Regions from separate parts of the Homo sapiens genome. Here region 1 is linked to region 2. Evidence: promoter capture Hi-C in human tissues and cell types (Jung and others, 2019). All regions are on one chromosome and are shown on one strand. The core of a region is centred on a gene start or on the middle of the fragment in contact, and the rest is flanking DNA. Distances in the headings are between cores, read along the strand shown. Region 1 has its middle 150 kb from the start of MIR4473. Region 2 holds the start of SLC24A2 (solute carrier family 24 member 2).

Region 1 (5,611 bases), core at 1,144-3,643, 470 kb after region 2:
CTATCTATCTGTCTATCTATCTATCTATCTAATGTCTATCTATCCATCCATCCATCCATCCATCCATCCATCCATGCTACAGATTGTGTCTCTCTGGAAAGCCCTAACTAAAACATTAAGTTAAAGGCTCTGAGAAGGGGAGAGTATGCTGGATTATCTGGGTGGTTAAAGGGACTATTAAACATGGAAGAGGGAGACAGAAGGAGAGAGTCAGAGGGAAATGAAACCTGGGAAGAATAGTAAGAGAGATGCAACATTGCTGGCTTCCAAGATGGAGGAAGGAACCATAAGCCAAGGAATGTGAATTGTTTCCAAGAATTGGAAAAGACATGAAAACAGATTCTCCCCTAGAGCCTCCAGGAAAAATTGACGCCCTGCTGATACCTTGATTTTAGCCCAGTGAGACCCATTTTAGATTTCTGACTTCCAGAATTGTAAGATTAAAAGATTATGTTATTTTAAGCCACACAATTTGTGGTAATTTGTTGCATCAGCAATAGAAAATTAATGCACACAGATATTACTATAACCATTTTGATAAAATCACATCACCCCAGCCCTAGAGAAAATTCTTTTTAATCATACTGCTGTGTGGGAGGATTAAATTTTATTAACCAAAAAAAAATTAGTTTGTTTTTAATATATTTATCACACTCGCCCTACCCTGCCCAGCCAAGATAGGAGATGAGCAGTGGTTGAAGAAAACCCCTTGGAAGCTCCTCAAAGAATGAATGAGTTATATGCCTACTGTTTGGGACAGAGTCAGAGACATCAACTGAAACTTAATGATCTCAAGTCTCTGGAGAGAGACTTGAGATCCAAATAGTCCCCAGTAGTCATCTCAAGTCTTAATCATCTCAAGCCTCTGGAGAGAGACTTCAGATTCAAACAGTCCCCAATAGCTATGATTTGAATGTTTGGCCCCTCCAAAACTTGCGTTAAAATTTAATTGCCATTGTAACAGTATTAAGAGGTAAGACCTAGCAGGGCACAGTGGCTCATGCCTATAACCCTAGCACTTTGGGAGACCAAGGTGGGAGGACTGCTTGAGCCCAGGAGTTTGAGACCAGCCTGGGCAACATGGCAAAGCCCCATTTCTGCCAAAAATATGAAAATTAGCTGGGTGGCATACATCCGTAGTCCCAGCTACCCAGGAGGCTGAGGTTGGAGGTCACCTGAGCCTCAGAGGTTGAGGCTGCAGTGAGCCATGATTGTGCCACTGCACTCCAGCCTGTGTGACAGAGTGAGACCCTGTCTCAAAAAACAAACAAATAAATAAATAAAAGGTGAGGCCTTTAAGAGGCAATTAGACCACGAGGGCTCCAACTTCATTAGTGAGCTTAGTGCCATTTTAAAAGGGCTGGTTTGGCCCTTCTTGCCCTCTCTTGCCCTTCTACTTCCTGCTATGGAATAATGCAGCAAGAAATCCATTGCCAAATACTGGCATCTCAATCTTGGACTTCAAAGACTCTAGAACTTGGAGCCAATAAATTTCTGTTTATTATGAATTACCCAGTCTCAGGTATTCTGATACAGCAGCAACAGTGGACTAAGAAGCCAGTCATCCAAAAGAAAACTACTAATTAAGAAAGTTAATGGGAAATAATAACTTTTTAAAGTGAGGTGTAGAGAACCTTTTGTAACACTAGGGATCTTGGTTTCTGGGTAGCTAAATACAATTAGATATCAATTTTCAATTTCATTTTATAGAAATCCATATGACATAGCTCAGGATTAAAACACTGTCTTAGTTCATTTTGTTCTGCTATAACAGAATACCACAGACTTCGTAATTTCCTTTTTTCCATCTCCATTGCTTTTATTTTTTTACTTTTATTATTTCAATAGGTTTGTGGAGAACAGGTGGTGTTTGGCTACATGAATAAGTTCTTTAGCAGTGATTGCTGAGCTTTTGGTGCACCTATCACCGGAAGAGTGTACACTGTACCCAATGTGTAGTCCTTTATTCCTCACCACCCCTCACCCTTTCCTCCGAGTCCCCAAAGTCCAACGTATCATTCTTTCTTTTTTTTTTTTTTTTTTTTTTTAAAGACAGAGTCTCACCCTGTTGCCCAGGCTGGAGTGCAGTGGCGTAATCTCAGCTCACTGCAACCTCCACCTCCCGGGTTCAAGCGATTCTCCTGCCTCAGCCTCTCGAGTACCTGGGACTACAGGCACCTGCCACCACACCCGGCTAATTTTTGTATTTTTAGTAGAGACGGGGTTTCACCATATTGGCCAGGATGGTCTCGATCTCTTGACCTCGTGATCTGCCCGCCTCAGCCCGGGCAGTAAAGTGCTGGGATTACAGGCACGAGCCACTGCACCCGGCCCAATGTATCATCCTTATGCCTTTGCATTCTCATAGCTTAGCAACCACATATGACTGAGAACATACAATGTCTGGTTTTCCATTCCTGAGTTACTTCACCTAGAATAATTGACAGACTTCATAATTTAAAAAAAACTGAAATGTATTTAGCTCATGGTTGTGGAGGCTGGGAAGTCCAGTGTCAACAGGCTGACATCTAGTGAGGGCCTTCAGGCTGCATTATGCCATGGTAGAAGTGCAAAAGGGAGGATAGGCCAGCAAGCATGTGTAAAAAGAAGAGTGCCAGGGTCAGACTTGCTTTATAACAGCCCACTCTCTCCAAAACTAACCCACTCCTACAATAACAACACTCATCCATTCATGAGGGCGCCGCCCTCATGACCCAATCACCACCTGGTAGGCCCCACCACCCAACACTGCTGAATTGGGGATTAAGTTTCCAACACGTGAATTTTGGGGGATGCATTTAAACCACAGTACTATCATAACTGTATTTTCATTTTTCTATAAAGTTTACTATCTTCTACTGGTAAAGTAAAGCCTGGCCATTTTGAAAATTTGTAGAAAACACCAAATCTTTTTTTTTTTTTTTTTTTTTTTTGAGACTGAGTCTCGCTCTGTCACTCAGACTGGAGTGCAGTGGCACGATCTCGGCTCACTGCAAGCTCTGCCTCCCAGATTCACGCCATTCTCCTGCCTCAGCCTCCCGAGTAGCCGGGACTACAGGCGCCCGCCACCACGCCTGGCTAGTTTTTGTATTTTTAGTAGAGACAGCATTTCACCATGTTAGTCAGGATGGTCTTGATCTCCTGACCTCGTGATCCGCCTGCCTCGGCCTCCCAAAGTGCTGGGAATACAGGTGTGAGCCACCGTGCCTGGCTACCAAATCATTTTTTAAATAACTCCATAAACAAAAGACAACATTGCTAACATGTTACATTTTCTCTGTACAGATAGGAAAAGGCAGCCCCAAAAAGAGAAATAATGCTGTAATACTATTATTCTCTGACCAAGCTTGCTTCCAGCTTACTCAGGGTTTTACTTATAAGCAAATAAAACTGACATCCCCAAAGGAGAAAGATTCCACTGGGGTTGGGCGAACATGGTTTGAATCTTTGTTTTGGCATGTCCTACCTATGTGACCCTGGCAAATGAGTTATTCCCAGCAGCCGAAGTTTCCTTGTCTATAACATGAGAATAATCAGACCTATTCCAGGCTATACATGAGGACTGAAGACCAAGTGCCTAGCACATTGCCCAATAAAGGAAAGTGGTCATTGTTGGCTCACAAGTAATTTTTTCAGGAATTCTCTGGCAGAAATTTTTTCAGGATTTCTAGCAGCTTTGCTGGCCACTGGCACCTCAGAGCTAACCATAGCCCTGCTGCCTGCGTTAAAAGCCCATTTACCTCAGTACAGCCCAGAAATAACCTCTAATATCTACAACTGGGGAGGTGCTTATTTTCCACTTATGAAACCTTATCATGAGCATTATCTCATTTCATATTTGGGCACCAGCCTGTATAAAATGGAAACCATCGGCTGAATTTGTTTAGAATCTGCCATCTGGCTGCTTCCCCCTGGCTCCCTGAATGAACTCCTTCTGCTGGAATGTTCTCACCCATTCTCTTCCCACTCTCTGCCCCTCGTCACGCCCTCCTAGGTGTCTGCACTGAAGTTAGTACATTTTTCCACTGCCATGTGTGCCTTTCTATTCTGCAGGGTTGGTTTTGAATCTTTTTTTTCCTAACCTTGAGAACAGGAACCATGGTGTTTTATTCTTCCCAATGCTTGGCAGAGCGGCACTTGGTAAATGTCAGTTAATGTTCCCTGAGAGAAGAAATAAATCAGGGTGGAATAAATAGGTAGATAAATGGAATAGGTAAATTCATGAATTGTCCTCAATCCACTGGAGCCTGCACCTGTGCTATCACTGGGTGTTTCTTGTAGCCCAATACCTAACCCATTTCAAAACTCATGTGTACTTTTATGTTTCTTCACTACTGGTTTGTTCTGAGGTTAACCTGGAAGGATAGTCAGCAATAAAATTAACCAAGACCTGGATGGAGGAGACAGAGAGAGAAGAATCCTTTTCTTTTTGGTGGAGGTGGGGGTGAGACAGGATCTCACTCTGTTGCCCAGGCTGGCCTTCAGTGATGTGATTATGGCTACTGTAGCCTTCACCTCCTGGGTTCAAGCAAGCTGCTCACCTCAGCCTCCTGAGTAACTGGGACCACAGGTGTGCACCACACCTGGCTATTTTTTAAATTTTTTGTAGAGACTGGGTCTTACTATGTTTCCAGGGCTGGTCTCAAACTCCTGGAATCAAGCAATCCTCCCACCTCGGCCCCCCAAAAGCGTTAAGATTACAGGCAGGAACCACTGCATCCATCAGAGAAGGATTCTTCACATGCTTTCTAGTGAAAAATTAGGAAGCCAGCAAAATTCCATGGGCACCTTCACACTGTGCTTCATGTGAATAGCAGTCCTGAATCACCATGCACTACATGTTTACATGAATGATGCTTTTTGTAGTAGCCAGCACTAGTAGCTAGCACTAACTTTACCCTATAGTATGTGTTCCTTTTGGAAGACTTGCAATGTTCCTTGGTGCCACTGGGACAAAGCCCATCCTGAACACTTCCATTGTTGCAGGAAGTAAACCTGCTTCCCCTCTCCCTTGTGCCCTCCTGGATATCCCACCCGCCCCCCCCCCCCCATTAAGGCTCTAACACAATGAAGGCTTTAAGTGAACATCATGTCTGGCTGGGCAGATGCAATCTCCTCTCTTCCTCAGAAGTTTGGATGGTTTCCTTTCTTGCTCTGCACCTCTGAGCTGGCCCACGTATCTGGAATAATTAGCTCTTGACAAGAGAGACCCAATGCTTCTTCCTCCTGCCAATCTGACTTCTATTGTAGTCAGCCCTGAGGGCCCCCATCCCAAGCAACACAAAGCATTGCATGAGTCCAGAGATGCTCAGGTGTAACAAAGGCAGTTAGGAGCAAGGACACTAAAGGAACAACACCTCTGTTGAAATGTCAGTTCTGACACAACCTCTCTGCACCTCAGTTTCCACACCTATAAGGTTAGCATAAGTATCTACTTCACAGTTCCCTTGAGAGGAAGATTACATGAGTTCCTGCTTGTAAAGTACTTGGAACAAAGTAATCCCCTTTTCTCAGATAACTCAGTTCATCTCATCCACAGTGGGCAGGGCCACCAAAAAGCCAAAGGTCAGGACAGCTGCCCCTGCTTCATGTGTTGCAGCTGAATTTGCCC
Region 2 (4,968 bases), core at 2,440-4,939:
TCTTTACAATGGATGCTGATCAGTTCCTGGTCAAGTGACCTAAGACATGATTGTGTCAATCAAGAAAAACAGCCATGACAACAATAATGACAAGCCCTGCTGGGCTAGGCTGCTGACTGGAAGGTACAGCTACGGTGACACAAACTTTCTTCCTCAGACATCTCTAAAGAGATGGTTCTTTCTTGGTAATTGCCATGTGTTCATTTAAAAAGAAAAGGCCTTGCAACTTTCTAGGCACATACACACTTTCCTATGAAAATTAAATTGTTCACAAAATCATTATGCCCACTTTCAGAAAATAAGAGACAAATAACTGCTGAATTGGCTTTGGGAGGCTTATGTAACCTATATTTACAAGTGTTTTACTCTGAAGCAAGTAGCTGAGGAACTTAGTAAACATCTGCAAGAATACCCCAAAATTATTTTTTCCACTGCTATGTTAGTCTAGCTATCACAGAACTGCAGAATCAATCTGCTATCCACAAGAGCCCCAAACACCATCACATCAAAAGAACTGCAGATCTCAAAAACATAATAATTCAGAACCGTAGTCAAGAAAAGCATTAAATAAAAATCCACCACCACCAACCTTTGCTTGGGCTTCTGGTGCTGTCACCTTGACGACCTTATTGCGGTTTATCATTTGCTTCACCCATTTTTCTACTTGGACGTTGAATTTCATGAAAACCACATAGCAAAAATAAGCTGTTAAGAGAAGCAAGCTTTCCCACCACATGATGACATTATCCAGGAAAAATATGATCAGCATGATCAAGTCAACAATGTAGAAAGACACATCTCGAAAGAGCGGCCACCATGTCAGGTTTAAGATTTCTCTAGAAAACAGAGCACACATGCCAATAACAAAGAGGATGTTGAATACTGCTGAACCTACAATTGTGCCTATGCCAACGTTGCTGTGAGCGATAAATACCCCTATGAGAGATGTGAAAAGTTCTGGGGCTGACCCTCCTGCAGCCATGAAGGTGGCTCCAGCCACATCATCAGAGATGCCCAGTTTTTCAGTGATGACAGTCAAAGAAGGAACAAAGAACTCATCACAGACAATGGCTAAGGCTATGAACATGTAGATCATTCCAATGACATGCAGAATGATCGCACCTTTTCTTCTCTCCTCAAGGGAAAAGATGTCTTTCGGGTAGTCTCCTTGGGCGTGATCTGTACTATTCTCAGACTCGCCTTCCTTAGAAAGAGGTGGCTGTGGAGTATAATCCAGAATCTTGTCATTTAAATCTAAGAGAGTTCTCTGATGGTAACCCTGTGCTACCCTAGGGCCACTTACAACACTGGCCTCTCCTGTGCTCTGTGTATCTGTCTCAGAAAAGGCACTGATTGAAAATGAGACAGTGCTAATGGCTACCAGACCCATGAAAAGGCCTAAGACTCGAATTAACTTCAGTTTTTTCTTGACACTATAATGTCTTCTGCAGCCAGACAGTGACTCATCCAAACACCATTTCTCTAGGGAAGTGATGGTGGTGCTTTGTTGCAGATCCATCCTGGGTCTTCTGGTGGATATGGTGATCTTCCAACTTTAGACTCAACCAGATGGTTCTTTCATACTTTTCCTTACTTTATAGTTAACGATGCTTGTGGGGTACTTTCACAATCAGGGATTGTTATGCTTCACAGGAAACTTTCATCATTTATGCTTAAATAAAAATAAAAACGAGAATAAGTAAATCATAAAATCACGTCTTTTTAATAAAGATCTTTGCAGATATGATAAAGTCCTGTCCTGCAGCTGTGCGATCTTGGGTAAGTTACTTAACTTCTCTGTGCCTCAGTTTCCTCATTTAAAATGGGGACAATTACGGTACCTACCACCCAGGATTGTTTTCAAGATGAGTAAAAACATATGTAGCACTTAGTATGGGATGTGGCACTTATGAAGATGTATGTATAAACCCAAATAAATATTTTGGTAAATCCAATGTTAGGTGCAGAGAAGGCAGATGTAAGAATAAAAATTTTACAGGTGAAAATCTATCAGATTATCTCACCTTAAATCATGTAATAACCTTCCAGTGCTATAAAGGTACCTAGACTTCTTTCAGAACTGTCTAGGTACTTGGCAACTAACAATTATTCATTGTTTACTTTTGGTCCAATTACATAATTCTCAGTTGTAGGCAACTTTTTCTGATTTAACCTATCATTTGGAAAGTGAGTGATTCTTTAATTTAGTGATCTTTTTTCTGCACACATAATGATATCAGATCTTATTTTTCATAAAAAGTCTCTCCTTTATCAGATGCGGGAAAGTAGTCCTTTACAAATTTAAGTTTACAAAAAAAAATTCTGGTGACATGCACAAGCTGCCTTCCCTAAACATCTAGACATTGTTTTCAGCTAAATATTTTTTTTAAAAAAACAACCTTTAGTCATATTTAAAATAGGCAGCTTAGTAAGTCAAAGAACTCCCAATGCAGTGAAATAACAAGTAGGCTATTTCGAGAGACCACATGTGTATTTCATAAACAATACGCAAGTTGTAGCAATACCTCTGTCCACAAAATCTGCCCAAAATAGCCCCACCACTGACTTTAATAGGTTAGATATCCAAAGCAGAGTTTTCTTTCTCTATCCCACGGAGGAGATGGGTAAAATAGCCAGACTTGACAGCTGATATTCTGAAGAGTTCTCTTTTTAGTTTTTCTTTAAAAAGACTATTCTTTTCCATATCAACGATTTCATTTTGGAGGCAGTCGCTGAGATAATCTCAGGTGTAAAATAAGCTAATTAAACACACGCCACTTAAATACTGAGATTAGCTGGAGCTCAGGTTTTCAGAGCAAAGCAAGAGCACAAATCAACCCCGCTGAGTTGCTGCTACTCCTGAGATAACCCGACCCCATCACGGAGATTCCCAGGTGGCTGCGAACGTCAACGCTTAGCAGGAACGATTAAGCGATTCACAGCACTCAGGGGATTGTGTAAATGCCCGGCCCGGGCGACCAGCAGGGACAGATTCAACTCCCCGGGCGCAAAGTCATCTCCAGCCCGATCCTCGCTCCCCCTGAAAACCCACCGCTCGTCTCCCCGGGAGCTGCCTCCGTAGGAGAATGTTCGCCCCCAGCCGCGCCCCAACTTTGCCTTGCGTGGTCCCAAACTTTCCCTGGTGGATTAATAGGAAAATAAATCTAAAGGACAGACGCCCCACCTGTGAGCTTGGAGCTGGGTTGCATTTGGTGAGGCGCTTGGCCCGCATCCCCCTGAGTCGTTTGTAGGTGGCTGGGGAATGGAAGCGCCCCTCTGCGCGTCTCCCCCGACGGCAGGCCCTGCCCCACGCCCCCCATCCCAAGCCAAAAGCAAGGGTAGGAGAGGCGGGGGCTCCAAATCCACGCCCCGGAGCACAGAGAGTTGGCTAACTCCTAGCGGGGCCTGGGGCGCCCACATCCACGGCAGAGCCACCTGTGAGCCTGCAGAGCAGCAACGGGATGCGCGCAACCGGGATGCGGGGACGACCGCCACAGCGGCTACAGCGGCAGGCGGGGCGCAGCCGCCCGCACTTACCAGGATAAGATGGGAGGACGCGCACACGGCGGGGCCCCCGAGCGCGGCCCGCCGCTCCAGTCCGCCGGCCCTCCGCCTACCCGCTCTGAGGCCCGGGCTCTGGCTCGCACTGGCTGCCGCTCTCGCCAGCCGGGCTGGGTTCGGGAGGAGACTGAGCCGCTGTGAGCCCGGCGCTCCGAGTCTGGCGCTGCCCGGCCCCCGCCGGCCCCTCCCTCTGGGCTGTGCGCTGTGCGCTGGGAGCGGGGCCGCAGCGCGCTCAGCTCCCGAGTCCTTTGCTCCACGCCTCCTGGGCGCAGAGGCGACGCTGGCAGCCGTCTCTTAGGAGATTTCTCCGCAGTGTGGACGGGGGTCAGGATTTGCAGGCGAGCAAGGGCAGAGAGGAGAAATCGTACAGGTCGGTGACGCGCCTAATTCACAAAGCCTGAAAGTGCTGTCAACTTTGGGGTCATCTTATGCTGGGCACCGCCTCTCCAATTATCTGCAAAAAGTGATAGCAGTCGCGCTTTTCTTTAGGAGGCGATGTGATGTGTAATGGTGGAAAAGACGTTCAATGAAAAGGCACGGAGGCCTGCAGGACAGGCTGTTGGGGTCCAGGGTTTCTTGAGTGTTGGATTTGGATGCTTGGGACACTGCAGGGGCTTCAGTCTTGCAGGGTGACCTTTCATTTCATGGGTGATGAAAGTGAGACCCAAAACCCCGTGTCATTTTGAATCACTGACAGGCTTCGGCTTTTGGCCTCGGGATGTCCAGCCCAGTGCTCCTTCCTGTCCTATCTGGAAAGCAAGATCCCCTTGACCACAAGAAATAGAATCAGGCTTGTTGGGGATGAGAGACTAGAATCTGGGCCAAAGAATGGAAGACGGTGGTAAGACAAATTGGTAGTGAGGGAACCCCTTTTACCCAACCCTGTGACCACCAGCAAAGCTGCCAAGAGGTACCCAACTCGTGAAGCTCTGAAAGCTTTTCGCACATTTTCCCCTCTCCTTACCCTCCATCCTTCTGTTCTCTCCCCCATCCAAGAGGGTTTCTTCATGCCCTCCTTACAATGGGGGTAATGGGTATATCCTGAGAGCTCATGACCTCTGACTTAGAGTACAGCTCTGTAGTCAGACCTCTGGGCCTACTCATCAATAAGTAAAGGGAAGCCTAGGGAACTTAGAAATATTTTTCTTCCCCCCACCCCCCAATCAAAGCCAGGCATTCAAGACTCAACTTTTCTTTTTCTTTCTCCTTTCGAGACTGAATCTTGCTATGTTGCCCAAGCTTGTCTTGAATTCCTGGGCTCTAGCCATCCTCCAGCCTCAGACTCCCAAGTGCTTGCAGACTATAGGTGCCTGACTGAATTTTTTTATCTTTAACTTTTAATTTAGAAAATTTCAAACATATACAAATGTAAGAAAGTAGTATAATGAATCTCCATGGGGCCATAAC

Evidence for each region. Contacts are between HindIII fragments. The study calls those that stand out against the background at their distance.
Region 1: a contact is called between a fragment that was not itself captured here and the fragment with the promoter of SLC24A2 in region 2, in 2 of the 25 tissues and cell types used here (H1 embryonic stem cells and stomach).

Annotation. Positions count from the first base shown.
Region 1 is chr9:20,258,825-20,264,435 of GRCh38, forward strand. It overlaps a transcript of SLC24A2 not described here. Among named protein-coding and RNA genes, the nearest start is that of MIR4473, 150 kb to the right of the region's middle. The HindIII fragment of the contact is 9,207 bases long and covers 1-5,611 here.
Region 2 is chr9:19,785,348-19,790,315 of GRCh38, forward strand. SLC24A2 (solute carrier family 24 member 2) reads right to left here and starts at 3,690. Exons shown (of 11, transcript NM_020344.4): 1 at 3,538-3,690; 2 at 590-1,672. The coding sequence starts at 1,519. LOC124902128 (a long non-coding RNA gene) reads left to right here and starts at 3,812. Exons shown (of 2, transcript XR_007061432.1): 1 at 3,812-3,931. RefSeq lists an enhancer at 2,606-3,253. The HindIII fragment of the contact is 14,556 bases long and covers 1-4,968 here.